Regions from separate parts of the Homo sapiens genome. Here region 2 is linked to region 1. Evidence: promoter capture Hi-C in human tissues and cell types (Jung and others, 2019). All regions are on one chromosome and are shown on one strand. Each heading gives the region's core, a stretch centred on a gene start or on the middle of the fragment in contact. The rest is flanking DNA. Distances are from core to core; before and after follow the strand shown. Region 1 holds the start of SYT5 (synaptotagmin 5). Region 2 holds the start of TMEM150B (transmembrane protein 150B).

Evidence for each region. Contacts are between HindIII fragments. The study calls those that stand out against the background at their distance.
Region 2: a contact is called between a fragment that was not itself captured here and the fragment with the promoter of SYT5 in region 1, in 1 of the 25 tissues and cell types used here (dorsolateral prefrontal cortex).

The regions. Positions count from the first base shown.
Region 1 is chr19:55,178,327-55,182,959 of GRCh38, reverse strand. It overlaps SYT5 (synaptotagmin 5), which reads left to right and starts at 2,671. Exons shown (of 9, transcript NM_003180.3): 1 at 2,671-2,843; 2 at 3,874-3,997; 3 at 4,592-4,633. The coding sequence starts at 3,919. PTPRH (protein tyrosine phosphatase receptor type H) reads left to right here. Exons shown (of 20, transcript NM_002842.5): 19 at 809-944; 20 at 1,057-1,713. The coding sequence ends at 1,206. RefSeq lists silencers at 2,656-2,845, 2,726-3,138 and an enhancer at 3,126-3,205. The HindIII fragment of the contact is 16,640 bases long and covers 1-4,633 here.
Region 2 is chr19:55,324,408-55,329,040 of GRCh38, reverse strand. TMEM150B (transmembrane protein 150B) reads left to right here and starts at 3,700. Exons shown (of 8, transcript NM_001282011.2): 1 at 3,700-3,769. The HindIII fragment of the contact is 8,762 bases long and covers 1-4,633 here.

The sequences.
Region 1 (4,633 bases), core at 1,422-3,921:
AGTCAGATGCAGTGGTGCATGCCTGTGATCCAAGCTACTCAGGAGGCTGAGACAGGAGGATCACTTGAGCCCAGGAGGTCAAGGGTGCAGTGAGCCGAGATCATGCCACTGCACTTCAGCCTTCGTGACAGAGAGAGATCCTGTCTCAAACAAAACAAAAGACTAATTTTTGTGTTTAAAGGAATTACTAAATGATTGGCTGGAGAGTTCCTCTTCCTGTATTTGAACCCCGGCTCTGCCACTTATTAGCTGAGTGGCCTGGGGAATGGGACTTCACCTCACTCAGCCTCCATTTCCCCATTTGTACAATGGAGCTAGTACATCCGACTTCTTAGGTTTGGGAGGAGTGAAGAAGGCCCATCAGGCACTTAGAACAGAGCCTAACAGATGGAAGGAACTCCAGGCAGTTTTGTTGTTGTTGTTGTTGTTGTTTTTGAGATGGGAGTTTTGCTCTTGTCGCCCAGGCTGGAGTGCAGTGGTGTGATCTTGGCTCACTGCAACCTCCACCTCCTGGGTTCAAGCGATTCTTCGCCTCAGCCTCCCAAGTAGCTGGGATTACAGGCATGCGCCACCATACCCGGCTAATTTTTGCATTTTTAGAAGAGACGGTTTTGCCAGGTTGGCCAGGCTGGTCTGGAACTCCTGACCTTGGGTGATCCACCGGCCTCAGCCTCCCAAAGTGCTGGGATTACAGGTGTGAGCAGGCATAGTTATTGTCATCATTCAAACACAGATCCCTCCAATCAGCCATGACCCCGGACCCTCACACTCCTGCCCCTTGGTCTGACCCTTCCCTTGTTCTGCCTAGTGCTGGCGTGGGTCGCACAGGAACCCTCATTGCCCTGGACGTCCTGCTCCGGCAGCTGCAGTCCGAGGGTCTCCTTGGGCCCTTCAGCTTTGTAAGGAAGATGAGAGAGAGTCGGCCGTTGATGGTGCAGACTGAGGTGAGGCAGTCCCTCAGCAACACAGGACGGGAGGCAGTGGGACGAGGGACCCTGGGGCTCCACGCAGCTCAGACCTGGGGGGACGCCTCTCACTCCCGTGCCTGCTTCCCAGGCTCAGTACGTATTCCTGCATCAGTGCATCCTGCGGTTCCTCCAACAGTCAGCCCAGGCCCCAGCCGAGAAGGAAGTCCCGTATGAGGATGTCGAAAACCTCATCTACGAGAACGTGGCCGCCATCCAGGCCCACAAGTTGGAGGTCTAAGTGACGAGGGGGCTGGGTCGGCAGCCCAGGCATCCTCAAGCTCTGGACACCCACTTGAGCCCAGATTCCTGGAAGAGCAGAGGGCTGGGCTCCCAGACTCCTGGGTGCTGTGGGAGGAGGGGGCTGGTATCCCAAACTCTGGTTTCCCCAGGAGAGAGTGGTCTGGTGGGCTTCAGATGAGTCCTATGGGAGCTGGGGATCTGGATTCCTGGTTCCCTGAAGGAGGAGAGGGATGATAGCTTGGATTCCCTAGGTCTTTCCAGGATGCAGAAAGAAACAGGCTGGGGCCTGGATTCTGAGGCAGGAAGGAATTTGGGTCTGGAGTTCTGGCTACTTGAGGACCAAAGGCAGGAAGGATCCTGCCTTGATTTTACTTCAGAAACCAAATCAGTCTTCTATAATCTGGGGTCGGAGGGAGTCCCTGTGCCCAAGGTCTCTCTGCACCCCACCATCCACATGTATTTTTCCTTCTATCCCATAATTTATTAAATCACTGTTCTCCCCAGAGACAGTTGTCCCATGGATTTCTGGGTCTGGAAATAATATTGGATTGGGAGTAGGGATGGGTTCCTGGTATCTAGGGATCGAGGCGAACGTCCAGGAGGGGACTAGAGGGACCCACACATTTGCACATGAAAAAATGTAGGTTTGGGTGGTTGAGTCTCTCAGAGAAGGCAGTGTCCAGACGTCTGTGTCCAGGGTCTGGGCAGTATGGACAGGGCTCGCTGGAGCTAGGTGCTTGGGGACTTGCCTTCTGAGCTTTTCTTTTACTCTTCTCTGTTGTTGTTGTTGTTGTTTTGTTCTGTTTTTGTTTTTGTTTTTGAGACATGGTCTTGCTCTGTTGCCCAGACTGGAGTGCAGTGGCTCACTGCAGCCTTGACCTCCTGGGCCCAGGTGATCTTCCCACCTCAGCCTCTAGAGTAGCTGCCATCACAAGTGCGCACCACCACGCTGGCTCATTTTTGTAGAGACGGGATTTTGCTATGTTGCCCAGGCTGGTCTCCAGCTCCTGGGCTCAAGCATTCCTCCTGCTTCGGCCTCCCAAAGTGCTGAGGTTACAGGTATGAGCCACCGCACTGGCCGCCTCCTGGGACTGGTGTTAGGGGAACTTAGAGGGCGATGTCTGGGGGCTGATAGCTGGGGACTTTGATGCTGAACCCTGCAGAGTCTGGGTCTCCAATGGGGGTCTGGGGTCTCCTAGGTCCTAGGACTGAGTATCCTGGCATGCCGTTCTTTGGGCTATACAGGGTGTGTGTCGTGTGTGTTGGGGCGGGAGGAGTGGAGTGGTCTGGACGGCCAACGACTGGACCAGAAGGCAGAAAATGCTAAAGCACCAGGATAAACATCTGTGGGCGTCATCGAGGTTCCCGGGTGGAGGCGGGAGGAGGGGCGGGGCAGGGCTTTCCGCCTACCCGAGACCAAATACGGGCACACACAATACACACCACACACGCGCGCACACGCACACGGGCACACACGCGCGCACGGGATCCTGCTCCGCTCCGCGGCTCCCCCGCCCCGGAGAGCTCCGCGATCAGCACCCGGGACAGCGCCACCGCCCACGTGCAGGGGGTGGGGTCCGGGCGGGGCTGGCGCCTCGGCGTCTCCCGGGAGTGTCCCGTCCAGCCGCCGAGCAGGTAGGAGCTGCTGGGACCCCCGCCCTCAGCCCATCCGCATCCGCATCCCTAGAGGAAAGGGGTGTGCGAGTGGGGGCTGGGGCACTGGGGAGACAACCAGAGGGAGGGCAGCAGCCTGAAGCGGAGAGACAGGGATCTGGGGACGCGAGACAGGTATGGAGAAGACAAAGAGCCGAGGGCGGGGAGTGGGGCGCAGGCGGAGGGGAGAGGGAGAGACCCTGGAGACAGAGGCCAGGCGATAGGGAAGAGAGACAGGCGGGTTGGGGAGGCAGACACAGGGAAGACGCCTATGTGGGGTCAAGAGGCAGCGTGGAGACCGAGGCGGTCACGAGAGCAGCACGGATGCGTGGAGAGACCAACAGGCCAAGAAGGATGAGGGGGCTCAGCACAGGCACCGGGCAGCCCCCGACCCGCCCTCCAGCAAAATTGGGGAGAGGGAAGAGGGAACCTGCGTCTCAGCTCCCAGGACCAGGTGCGGAGGGAGCAGTCGGCTGTGGGCGCTCGGACCACAGGCTGCCCGCTCCCCACCTCGCGGGACCTCAGGATCCCAGTCGGGCTATTGGGGGGTTCCCAGGCACCGGTGGGCCCCGGAGCGAGCCTGCCCCGCCGGGACTCCGCGTCTGTGCGTCAGCCCCGCCCGTTGTCCTGGCAACAACCCGTTGCCCGGGCAACCAGCTTTGCTCTCACCCCGCTTGAGAGGAGCCCGGCTGTTGCTCTGGGCAACGCGGTCTGCTGGTTCCCACGTCTGCCTTCGCCCGCTTCCGGTTCAGACCCTGCGGAGGGGCGAGGACGAGGCAGAAGTCAGCGGGATGCCTGTGGGGCCGTGGAGGAAGAGGGTATCCCTTTAGGATGGAACTAGGTCCTGGACACCCCCTCTCAAGTGCGGGGAGGCTGATACTACAACTCCCAGCATGACTCGCGGTGGCTGTCCGGTTTCTGCGCGGCTGTTCGCGCAAAGGCCTCATGGGAGTTGGAGTTCTTTGTTGTGCGTGGGGCTCAAAGGACGTCTGGGGTGGGAATGGGGGACTAGGGTGCTTGAGTGTCTCTGCAGAAAAGACTCCAGGACCCCGCCACCATGTTCCCGGAGCCCCCAACCCCGGGGCCTCCATCGCCCGACACGCCTCCCGACTCCAGTCGCATCAGCCACGGCCCAGGTGAGCAAGACCCGGGGGTGGGGGGCCGAGCAGAGAGAAAGCCTGGCCAGGATTCCGAGGGGCGGGATTCGGACGGGTGTACTCGGGCAGGCGGGCTGGAAAATCCGGCTGGGATCCCGGGTCGTCATCCTGGACTGGAATGCGAACGAAATGGGGTAAAAGGAAGGAACAGATTTGCAAAAAAAAAAAAAAAAAAAAAAAAAAAAAAATCGAAACCGGATCAAGGGGTGTTGCATGGAATGGGATCTTAGAATTGGAAGGTCCACCTAGCTCTTCTTTTACAGATAAGGAAACAGGCCCGATGAGGAGCAGGGCTTCTTGTAAAAGCATCAGGAGTTGAGCAGAAATGGGGGGCGGGGTCGGGTAAGGAAAGGCAGAACTAACAAGCAAGCAAATCCAGATGGTGTCAGCCTGGGTTGGGGCATCGAATCTCTCTATAGGCCACATTAGGTGGAAGAAAAACACAGGAAGAAATGCAATGAAAATGGCTGGAGGGAAAAGGAGGCCAGCATTCCAGCTTCCACGTGTAATCAGGACTGAATCAGCCTGCGTGCTGCCCAGGCCTCAATGTGTGTTGTCTCCACCCCTCTGCAGTGCCCCCCTGGGCCCTGGCCACCATCGTGCTGGTCTCAGGCC
Region 2 (4,633 bases), core at 1,157-3,656, 150 kb before region 1:
TCAGAAAGACACATCAAATGGGGGACGGTGGCACAGGCCTGTAATTCCAGCTACCTGGGAGGCTGAGGCAGGAGGATCTCTTGAGGCCAGGAGGCTGAGGCAGGAGGATCTCTTGAGGCCAGGAGGCTGAGGCAGGAGGATCTCTTGAGGCCAGGAGGCTGAGGCAGGAGGATCTCTTGAGGCCAGGAGGCTGAGGCAGGAGGATCTCTTGAGGCCAGGAGGCTGAGGCATGAGGATCTCTCTCTCTTTTTTTTTTTTTTTGAGATGAAGTGTTGCTCTGTCACCCAGGCTGGAGTGCAATGGCGCAGTCTCGGCTCACTGCAACTTCCGCCTCACAGGTTCAAGCCATTCTCCTGCCTCAGCCTCCCGAGTAGCTCGGATTACAGGCGTGTGCCACCATGCCCAGCTAATTTTTCTTTTTTTTTAGTATAGACGGGGTTTCGCCATGTTGGTCAGGCTAGTCTCCAACTCCTGACCTCAAGTGATCCGCCTGCCTCAGCCTCCCAAAGTGCTGGGATTACAGGCATGACTCCTGGCCAGGCAAAGGGATCTCTTGAGGCCGGGAGTTCGAGGCTGTAGTGTGCTATGACACTACCTGTGAATAGCCACTGAACTCTGGCCTCAGCAACAAAGCCAGATCTCATCCCTAAAAAAGATTGTAATGTAATTTTAAAAAGACCGATAATAGCAGGCACTGTTGCCGGTGTGGAGAGATTGAAACCCTCATGCACTGCTGTCAGGAATGTAAAATGGTGTAAATCGTGTACACATGGCGGAAAGTAGTTTAGCAGTTCCTAAAAATGTTACTATACAACCCAGTAATTCTACTTCTAGGTAGAATGGTGGCAGGTGCCTGTAACCCCAGCTACTCGGGAGGCTGAGGCAGGAGAATTGCTAGAACCCGGGAGGCAGAGGTTGTAGTGAGCCGAGATCGCGCCACTGCACTCCAGCCTGGGCAACAAGAGCAAAAGTCCATCTCAAAAAAAAAAAAAAAAAAGAACATATGAGCAAATGGCTGGCCGGATAGGCAGGTGGGTGGATGAGTGGAGAAATAACTAGCTGGAGGAATGCACAAAGGCATGAACATATGCACAGATAAATGGATGTTTCAGGAGAAGGTTGGATGGGTGAAGATAAGGAGGGATATTCAAGGGCATTGCATGGCACATAGGAAGGAACCAAACTTTACAGCCAGACAGACCCAAGCTGCTCCACTCGGTAGCTGAGTGACATTGGGCAAGTACGGTAGCCAGGTGGCTCACCCTTCCTGAAAGAACTTGATTAGCAGGGAGGACTTCAGCTGGTCTCCAGCCTCCAGCAGTAGCACCTTCAGCAGTGTTTGATTTGGATTGCTATTACATTCTTTTTATGCAGCCTTGACCGATGACTAAGCATGGGGTGGGGAGCAGAGCCTGGCCGTTTCTGCCCAATGTGGACACCTCTAAAGTCAATGTGCTAAAGTGTTTATTTATTTATTTATTAAATTTAACTTTTTGGCCAGGCGCGGTGGCTCTCACCTGTAATCCCAACACTTTGGGAGGCCGAGGCGGGCGGATCACGAGGTCAGGAGATCAAGACCATCCTGAATAACACAGTGGAACCTCATCTCTACTAAACATACAAAAAAAAAAAAAAAAAAATTAGCCGGGCGTGGTGGCGGGCGCCTTTAGTCCCAGCTACTCGGGAGGCTGAGGCAGGAGAATCCTTTGAACCCGGGAGGCGGAGCTTGCAGTGAGCCGAGATCGCGTCACTGCACTCCAGCCTGGGCCAAAGAGCGAGACTCCGTCTCAAAAAAAAAAAAAAAAAGTTAAATTTAATTTTTAAATTATTTATTTATTTATTTATTTATGTATTTATTTATTTATTTTTTGGGACGGAGTCTCGCTCTGTCGCCCAGGCTGGAGTGCGGCGACGCGATCTCGGCTCACTGCAACTGCCGCCTCCCGGGTTCCCGCCGTTCTCCTGCCTCAACCTCCCGGGTAGCTGGGACCACAGGCGCCCGCCACCACGCCCGGCTAATTTTTTTGTATTTTTAGTAGAGATGGGGTTTCACCATGTTAGCCAGGATGGTGTTGATCTCCTGACCTCGTGATCCGCCCGCCTCGGCCTCCCAAAGTGCTGGGATGACAGGCGTGAGCCACGGCGCCCGGCCCACTCTAAGCATTTTAAAGTATAATTCGGTGTCGTCTAGCACAGTCCCAATGTTGTGCAACCTTCGTCTCTATCTAGTTCCAAAACAGTTTCATAACCCCCATAAGGAAACTCCAAATAAGCAATCATTTCCCATCCTCCCCTCTTCCCACCCCTTGCAACCACTGACTTGCTTTCGGTCTCCATGGACTTGCGTATGGGTGATCTTTGCACCACATTTCCCAGCTGACCTGACCGGGGTTCTCAGAACTGCACATGGTCTGTGATTCTTCCACTCTCCCCATCTCCTTTCTCCAGTGTCAGACCCAGACCCACTCACGTTGCAGTCTGAAGTCTCTCCCAGCCACTCCTGGTCTTTCTCCTCCTTTTTCTTTTTTTCTTTTTTTTTTTGTATTTTTAGTAGAGACGGGGTTTCACCATATTGGCCAGGCTGGTCTTGAACTCCTGACCTCGTGATCCGCCTGCCTTGGCCTCCCAAAGTGCTGGGATTACAGGCTTAAGCCACCGCGCCTGGCCTTTCTCCTCCTTTATCCTTCAGCAACCTCATCCCCAGTCAATCTCTTGCTTTTCTTTTCTTTCTTTCTTTTTTGTTTTTTTGAGAGGGAGTTTCGCTCTTGTCGTCCGGGCTGGAGTGTAGTGGCACAATCTCGACTCACTGCAACCTCCACTTCCTGGATTCAAGCGATTCTCCGGCCTCAGCCTCTTGAGTAGCTGGGATTACAGGCGCCCGCCACCATGCCCAGCTAATTTTTGTATTTTTAGTAGAAACGGGGTTTCGCCATATTGGCCAGGCTGGTCTCGAACTCATGACCTCAGGTGATCCACCCGCCTCAGCCTCCCAAAATGCTGGGATTACAGGCGTGAGCCACCGGGCCCGGTCAGACAGGCATTCTTTTAGGGTCTTATGTGGATAACCCCAATAAACCCTCACAATTGCACGAGGGCAGACCATCATGATCCCTGTTTTGCAGACAAGAAAACAGAGGTCCGAGACCCATCTATCTCTAGAGGTGTACATCCCCTCCCTGGGGAAGGTTCTGAGACCTCTGTGTTCCTAGACGTCTACATCCCCTCTCTGGGGAAACTTCCAGGCAGGGGACATAGACATCTAGGGATATAAAAATAAAAATAGGCCGGCCGCGGTGGCTCACGCCTGTAATCCTAGCACTTGGGAGGCCGAGGCGGGTGGAACACCGGATGTCAGGAGTTTGGGACTAGCCTGACCGACATGGAGAAACCCTGTTTCTACTAAAAAAATACAAAATTAGCCGGGTGTGGTGGTGCATGACTGTAATTCCAGCTACTTGGGAGGCTGAGCAGGAGAATCGCTTGAACCCGGGGGCAGAGGTTGCGGTCAGCTGAGATCGCGCCATTGCACTCCAGCCTGGGCAACAAGAGCGAAACTCCGTCTCAAAAATAAAAAATAAAATAAAAAAATAAAAATAAAAATAAAAACCAGTCCCCACCACCAACCACAAGCGGTTTCCTCAATATGAAAGTGCAACGTCATCTTTCTCAGAGGAAAAGCACAGCCTCTTCCCCTCGGCTGAGCCAGGCCAGCAGCCCTAGCTTCTGGAAGGATCCTTCAGGCTCCAGACACCCAACCTACCCGTGGCCGGTGAGTGGGGCCTAATTCCCAACTTGAAAGTAGCTCGGCAGGCTGGAGCCCTGTCCCCTGTCCTCCCAGGGAGGGTCCAAGCAGGTCACATAAGCACCGTGGGGACACCAGTGAGCCAAACTCATCTTTGTGCCAGGACACCGAGTTGGGTATGGAGGCTCAGAGCGGGGACAAGTCTTCCTTAGGATCACCTGGGCTTTCTCGTCTTTATTATTATTATGTTTTTGGAAGAGAAGTGGGAATCAGCCAGGTGGCAAACACAGGACAGGGCAGGGCAGGAGATCAGTGTTGAGGGCCGACGGAGGAGCAGGTAGCATGGACCCCTCCCTCCCCTGGGCTCCCTCATAGCTTTGTGTGACTTCCTTTAGAGGAGCTGTCACCTGCTGATCATCTGTGTTGCCCACAGACAGGGATTCCCCTGAGGGCAGGGGGTGGCTCAGATTCATGTCTGGGCAAACGGAGACCTCCGGAAAAAGAAGCGAAAGGAGGAAGACGAGACCCAGAGGAGAGGCATTTGGCAGCAGAAGGGGTGAGGAGGACTTGGAGAGCTTTGCCCTCTATCAGCCCCACTGGGACAGGATTTATTTTTTATTTTATTTATTTATTTTATTTTATTTATTTTTGGAGACGGAGTCTCACTCTGTCGCCCAGGCTGGAATGCAGTGGTGCGATCTCGGCTCACTGCAACCTCCGCCTCCTGGGTTCAAGCGATTCTCCTGCCTCAGCCTCCCGAGTAGCTGGGATTACAGGTGCCTGCCACCACACCCGGCTAATTTTTGTATTTTTAGTAGAGACGGGGTTTCACTATGTTGGCCAGGCTGGTCTCAAACTCCTGATCTCATGATCTGCCCACCTCGGCCTCCC